2 separate regions of the Homo sapiens genome follow, and region 1 is linked to region 2. Evidence: promoter capture Hi-C in 16 types of primary human blood cells and fetal thymus (Javierre and others, 2016). All regions are on one chromosome and are shown on one strand. Each heading gives the region's core, a stretch centred on a gene start or on the middle of the fragment in contact. The rest is flanking DNA. Distances are from core to core; before and after follow the strand shown. Region 1 overlaps ADGRL1-AS1 (ADGRL1 antisense RNA 1). Region 2 holds the start of CC2D1A (coiled-coil and C2 domain containing 1A).

Region 1 (3,659 bases), core at 995-3,494, 230 kb after region 2:
AACAGCACTGAGCCAAGGCACTAGTATTTCTTACCCAGTCACCTCTGTGGGCTCACTAGGACTCACTCACTGTGCTAGTATGTTTTCCTTTTCCTTTTCTTTTTAAACAATCCAGTTCCTGTGGGATTTTTTTTTTTTAATAGAGGTCTGTTGCCCAGGCTGGAGTGCAAGTGGCATAATCGTGGCTCACTATAACCTGGAACTCTTGGGCTCAAGTGATCCTCCCACCTCAGCCTCCCGAGTGGCTGGGATCACCAGTGCGTGCCACCATGCCTAATTTGTTTTATTTTATTTTATTTTTTTTTTGAGAGGGAGTCTTGCTCTGTCACTCAGGCTGGAATGCAGTGGCGCAATCTCAGCTCACTGCAACCTCCTGCTTCCAGCTTCAAGCGATTCTCCCACCTCAGCCTCCCGAGTAGCTGGGACTACAGGCACACGCTACCTTACCCAGCTAATTTTTGTATTTTTAGTAAAGATGGGGTTTCACTATGTTGGCCAGGCTGGTCTCAAACTCCTGACCTCAGGTGATCCACTCACCTCGGCCGCCCAAAGTGCTGAGATTACAGGCATGAGCCACCGTGCCCTGCCTCTTATACTTTTTAAATTTTTTGTAGAGACAGGGTCTCGCTGTTGCCCAGGCTGGTCTTGAAACTCCTGGCCTCAAGCAGTCCACCTATCTTGTCCTTAAGTGCTGGGATTACAGCGCCTAGCCCATTTTTGGTATCTACATCTCACATTAAGTTAAGAAAAATTCTTTTTAGCTGTTAAAAAATCGAAAGCTTTGTTTTTATTCTTTTGAAATTATTTGGCTTCAAGGAAACTCACATTTATGATTCGCTTGATTTCTTGGCAATCATTGCATACTTAGGGATATTTGTGATTTGAGAAAATCTAATTTCCAAATGTAATTCGATTGCTTATGAATACTAAATTTAATGATTAATGCAGTTGTCATGATGTCACATTTCTAGATGCTTAATTAAACATTTATTCATTCCAACTTTGTAGTTTTCTCTTTGCATTGTGGAACTTTTTTCCCTTTATCCCTGTCCCTGACCTTTTCGTAGCCCCTGAGAAGCTCATGATCCACCAGCATTATTTCCGTGGCGCTAATGAAGAATGTGGCCCTGTCTATGATGCATTCTCCTTACAGCTGGCTGAATGATCTTCACTTGTAAACCAGATCATGTCATTACTCTGCTTAAAACCTTCAGAGGCTTATCCTACTTAGAATGAAACCTAAGATCTTTCCTATGGCTTAGGCGGCCCTGCGTGGTGGCCTCAGCTGACCTCTCAGGCCTCATCTACCATTCTTCCTCTTGTCACCGCTCTCAAGCCCAGCTGGCTTTATTTCCCTTCTTTCAACACACCCAGCTTATTTCTGCCGCAGGGCTTTGCACTTGCCGTTCCCTCTGCCTGGAATGTGCTTCCTCCAGATAATTGCATGGCTGTCTCTTTCTCTTCGCTTGTGGTTCAGCTCAAATGTCCTCTGAAAGAAGACTTCCCAGAGTACCCTATTTAAAGTAGCACTTTCTTGGCCGGGCGCGGTGGCTCATGCCTGTAATCCCAGCACTTTGGGAGGCCAAGGCAGGCGGATCACGAGGTCAGGAGATCGAGACCATCCTGGCTAACATGGTGAAACCGCATCTCTACTAAAAATACAAAAAATTAGCCGGGCGTGGTGGCGGGCGCCTGTAGTCCCAGCTACTTGGGAGGCTGAGGCAGGTGAATCGCTTGAATCTGAGAGGTGAGGGTTGCAGTGAGCTGAGATCGTGCCTCTGCAATCCAGCCTGGGTGACAGAGCAAGACTCCGTGTCAAAAAAAATAAATAAATAAATAAAGTAGCTTTTTCTTAATCACATCACTCAGTTTTATGATCTTAGTAACGCATATCAGAATTTGTACTTATTTTCGGGTGGGCATGGTGGCTCACACCTATAATCCCAGCACTTTAGGAGGCCAAGGCGGGCCGGTCACTTGAGGTCAGGAGTTCGAGACCAGCCTGGCCAACATGGCAAGACCCCGTTTCTACTAAAAAAAAAAAATACAAAATAAATAAATAAATAAATAAATAAATTAGCTGGGCGTGGTGGCACGTGCCTGTAGTCCCAGCTGCTCAGGAGGCAGAAGAATTGCTTGAACCGGGGAGGCAGAGGCTGCAATGAGCCGAGATCACGCCACTGCACTCAAGCCTGGGCAACTGAGAGAGATTCCATCTTAAAAAGAAAAAAAGAATTTCTACTTATTTTGGTTTTAAATTGTGCTTATTATCTCATCATCCCTCAGTAGATTGAAAGCTGGTTGTGAGAAGAGATCTCGCCTAGCTCACACCTCTCAATGTTGTACTTCCAGAGCTTAGCAGAGGACGTGGCTCATAGAAAGTCCTCAATCAATTTTTCAAAAAGAATAAATCTGGCTGGGCGCAGTGAGTCACACACTCTGGGAGGCCGAGGTGGGCGGATTACCAGGTCAGGAGATCGAGACCATCATGGCAAACATGATTAAAACCTGTCTCTACTAAAATACAAAAAATTAGCCAGCCGTGGTGGTGCGTACCTGTAGTCCTAGCTACTTGGGAGGCTGAGGCAGGGGAATTGCTTGAACCTGGGAGGTGGAGGTTGCAGTGAGCCTAGATTGCACCACTGCACTCCAGTCTGGTGACAGAGGAAGACTCCGTCTCAAAAAAAAAAAGAATAAATCTATGTAAAGGGTGGGTTTAGCATAGTACCTGGAATGTGAAAAGTACTCAATAAACATGAACCAGCCAGGTGCAGTGGCTCACGCCTGTAATCCCAGCACTTTGGGAGGCTGAGGCGGGTAGATTGCTTGACCTCAGGAGTTCGAGACCAGCCTGGGCAAAACCCTGTCTCTACAAAACATAAAAAAATTAGCCGGGTGTGGTGGCATGTGCCTGTGGTCCCAGCTACTCAGGAGGCTGAGGTGAGAGGATTGCTTGAGCCCTGGGGGCAGAGGTTGCAGTGAACCAAGATCTCACCACTGCACTCCAGCTTAGCTAGGCAACAGAGTGAGACCCTGTCTAAAAACAAACAAAAGACTGAACTGTTAGTAGCATATAGTAATAAGCAGATACGTCTTCATTCTTGTTTAATACTTCAGGTGCACACATGCTCGAGAAAGTATAAGAAGTGCTATAGCAAAATACTGTTACCCAGCTTAACAGCTAAAACATTAGAGATGCAACTGAAGGGCCCTATACCCCTACATCAAACCCATTCCTCTTCCTTTTTCCTCACATGTAACCACAACCCTGAATTTGGTGTTTACAGTCTTCTGTGCATATCGGCGTGTATCTTTAAACAATATATAGTATTGTTTGTCATGTTCTATACTTTTATATAAATGGTGTCTGCGCAATTTAGAGTTAACCTAGCAGGCCTGAGACTGCTATCCTTAGAAAGACCTGTTTGCAAGATTGGCCCTTGGCTGATATCTAGGAACTTGGATTTCAGGAGGGTTCCTGCCGTTCCCCAAATGATGAGTGCCTAAACTGTTTCCACCAACAATGTGGTTCATGTTGAACACCTGCTCTCCTTCTGGAGTCTGGCATTTTGGTACACGACCACCCCCAAGTACAACTCTGGTCACTGAGTAATGAGCTTCCCTGGTAGACCGCCTATCCGTCGTGCTGTCATACTTGG
Region 2 (3,485 bases), core at 942-3,441:
CTAAGCTGTGGGACCCCACCAGAGGCTTGCAGAAGCTCCAGAAAACTTTCACTTTTACTTTTCCTGTATGCCCTCTCCGTTATTTCTATTTTTCTTTCTTTCTTTTTTTTTTTGAGACAGGGCCTCAATCTATCAGTCAGGATGGAGTGCAGTGGTACGATCTGGATTCACTGCAACCTCCACCTCCCAGTTCAAGCAATCTTCCTGCCTCAACCTCCTGAGTAGCTGGGACTACAGGTGCCTGCCACCACGCCCAGCTAATTTCCTTACTTTACATTGTAGAGACAGGATCTCGCTATGTTGCCCAGGCTGGTCTTGAACTCCTGGACTCAAGCGATCCGCCCACCTCGGCCTCCCAAAGTGCTAGGATTACAGGCGTGAGCCACCACACCGGCCTTCTATTTTTCTTACCAGCATGAATTAAATCCTTTTTGTCTTTTTCTTTTTTTTGAGACAGAGTCTTGCTCTGTTGCCCAGGCTAGAGTGCAGTGGCACCATCTTGGCTCACTGCAACATCGGACTCCCAGGTTCAAACGATTCTCCTGCCTCAGTCTCCCGAGTAGGTGGGACTACAGGCATGTGCCACAACACCTGGCTAATTTTTGTATTTTTAGTAGAGACGGGGTTTCACCATGTTGGTCAGGCTGGTCTTGAACTCCTGACCTTGTGATCTGCCCGCCTCGGCCTCCCAAAGTGCTGAGATTACAGGTGTGAGCCACCGCACCCGGCCAATCCTTGCTTCCTTTTAAGGAGGTTAAGGCAGTCGTGTTAGCCAGATCTGCAATAAACAAGCCCACATTCTTCCCACAAGCAGAAGCAGAAATCAACAAGTGTCCATTTGAATGAACGTACCTGAGGTCCGCAGCTTCTTCCTCTTAGTCATTTTATCTTCCCCTTGAGAAATCTGAAAACAAGCAAAATCTCTCATCATTATAAGCAGTCTCTGTCTCTGTTTATATCCAGTGGCTTTGGCTGAGAGCAGAGGTTACCCCTACCTCCACCTCAGCCCATTTGGCTGCCCCAGGGGTCAGATGGCTCCCACTGGGACACAGGATGGGACACAGAGTCACAGCCACTTTGGGCCATGGCCAGGTAGGAATTCAAACCTCCTCCAAACTGAAGATCTTATGCCCAGGACCTGAAAGACAAATGGGCCCTGGGGGGTCCTTATAGATAGCCCCGGGGACCCAGACTCTGGTCCCTAGGATGAAACAGCCTGTGTGAAGCCCCTCCCTCCAGACTGGGGTATCTGGGGGCCCTTCCAAGGACACTTGAGGACTCTCCAGGGGCCTCTGGAGACCAGCCTGGCCAATATGGTGAAACCCCCTCTCTATTAAAAACACAAAAATTAGCCTGGGCATCGTGACGCACACCTGTAATCCCAGCTACTTGGGAGGCTGAGACAGTAGAATTCCTTGAACCCATGAGGCAGAGGTTGCAGTGAGCCGAGATCGCTCTACTGCACTCCAGCCTGGGCGACAGAGCGAGACTCCGTCTCAAAAAAAAAAAAAAAAATTAGTCAGGTGCGGTGGCACACACCCGTAATCCCAGCTACTCAGGAGGCTGTGGTACAAGGCCAGGAGGCAGAGGTTGCAATGAGCCAAGATCGTGCCACTTTAAAGGGGACAGCTGGGTCCTTGGAGGGGAAAGAGCTGCCATAGGCCGGTTTCTCCCAGCCTTGGGGGCGAGGCAAACCAGAACGGACCTGGGCCACAGAAGTCGTTGAGGACCCTCTGTCCTTATCAGAAACGAGCTCTGCCTGGATCAGTTGGGAATAAGTCGCTTGAATTATCCGCGTTACTCTTTTTGGAAAAAATAAATGGCCAAATTGGCCCTCACAGAACGCTGGAGGCCTCGAGTCCGGAGGTGAAAGATGGAAAGGCCTGAGGGTGGGCGCTGTAGACCCCGCTCCCGGTGACAAGCCCCACACTGACACTACGCCGACCACCGAGAAGTGAGGACTCCACAGGCCGAGAGCCCACGTGAAGCCGGAGCCCGTCGGTGACTGACAGACGCTCTGAACCCCACAGATGTCGCCGCCCCTCACACCTGCGCGCGCTCTGCCTCTTTCCCGCGCCCCGCGAGGTCCCGCCCCGCGCATGAGCGACGCAAACACCGCCCTCGCAGCCCGCGACAGTCAGCACCGCCCCAGCCAGGCGCCTGCGCGCCCACGCACTACCTGCCGGGAGTTGTAGTTTCGGCTCGGCAGACCCGGCGAGCCCAGTGGCCGCGCTCCGGTGCGGCGGCGCCCGAGGCCCGAGGCGGAAGTGGGACGGCCAAGCAGGGAAGCGAGGGCTCGGGATCGACGGCCGCGGGGCGCCGACGAGGAGTGCAGGACTCAGGAAGGGCGAGTGCGCGGCGACAGAGCCCGGGGAAGGAGGCAGGGCAAGGCCGGGCTTGGGGGCAGGTGGTCCGGGCATCCAGCCTTGAAGATGCACAAGAGGAAAGGACCCCCGGGACCCCCGGGCAGAGGCGCCGCGGCCGCCCGCCAGGTGAGTTTGCGCCCCACGGCCCGACCTGGGGATCCCTCCCCACCCCCGTCACTCGCTCAGGGAAGGGCCCCACCCCCCAGGGAAGCCCGATCTCCGCCCCACAGGTAAGCCCCGGTCCCCGCCTCCCCCCAGGTGAGGCTCCAACACCACCCAAGTGTGGCCTACTGGCCTTGGCTCCCCAGCTCCTGGGGCCCTGCCCCGGGTTCGGGGCCACCTGTTGCCACAGCTGCTCCAGTCGAGGAGGGGCAGTCCTCGGACTTGACACATCAAACCCTTGCATCAGTCGGGCCATGTCAGACTCTTTTTATTCCATTGTACAGATGAGGACTTTGAGACTCAGAGACGTGAAGACATCTGCCCAAGGTCATAGGGATTAACAGCTTGGCCAGGGCTAAGCACAAATCCAGGGCTGCAGCCATAAGCTTATGGCACTGTGGCTGGACCCCTTCTCACTCTCCCGACTTCTTTGCCCCAGGCACCAGATAGTTTGATTTTTCTCAGTTTTGATGGAAGGAGCCCAGGACATAGCTTGGTGTTCAGATATTAGAGTCTGGCTGACCTGAAGTTCCCTCCTGGCCTCTGTACATCGGACACTTGACTTTACAGCTCTGAGCCTCAGCTTTCTCATCTGTAAAATGGAGATCTCTATAATCCCAGCACTTCAGGAGATGGAGGCGGAGGCAGAGGTGGGAGAGTCATTTGAGGCCAGAGTTTGAGACCAGCCTGGGCAAAAGCAAGACCCCCGTCTCGACAAAAAAAGACTAACTGGGCATGGTGGCATGTGCCTGTAGTACTACTACTTGGGAGGCTAAGAAGGGAGGATTGCTTGAGCCCAGGAGTTCAAGACCGCAGTGAGCTATGATTGCGCTACTTCTGCTCCAGCCTGGGTGACAGAACAAGACTCTTTCTCTAAAATAAAGATAAAAAATTAAAAATGGAAGTCCGGGGTGGTGTCTCACACCTGTAATCCCAGCACTTTGGGAGGCCATGGCG

The links. Contacts are between HindIII fragments. The CHiCAGO score rates a contact against its expected background, and 5 or more counts as called.
Region 1: a contact is called between a fragment that was not itself captured here and the fragment with the promoter of CC2D1A in region 2, in 14 of 17 cell types (total CD8 T cells, erythroblasts, monocytes and 11 more). The highest score is 7.1, in total CD8 T cells.

What each region holds. Positions count from the first base shown.
Region 1 is chr19:14,138,794-14,142,452 of GRCh38, forward strand. The region is part of intron 1 of ADGRL1-AS1 (ADGRL1 antisense RNA 1); the gene reads left to right. Among named protein-coding and RNA genes, the nearest start is that of ADGRL1-AS1, 3.5 kb to the left of the region's middle. The HindIII fragment of the contact is 2,934 bases long and covers 778-3,659 here.
Region 2 is chr19:13,904,010-13,907,494 of GRCh38, forward strand. It overlaps CC2D1A (coiled-coil and C2 domain containing 1A), which reads left to right and starts at 2,192. Exons shown (of 29, transcript NM_017721.5): 1 at 2,192-2,492. The coding sequence starts at 2,433. It overlaps BRME1 (break repair meiotic recombinase recruitment factor 1), which reads right to left and starts at 2,108. Exons shown (of 9, transcript NM_001345843.2): 1 at 1,706-2,108; 2 at 853-904. The coding sequence starts at 883. RefSeq lists a silencer at 2,507-2,566. The HindIII fragment of the contact is 3,878 bases long and covers 1-2,912 here.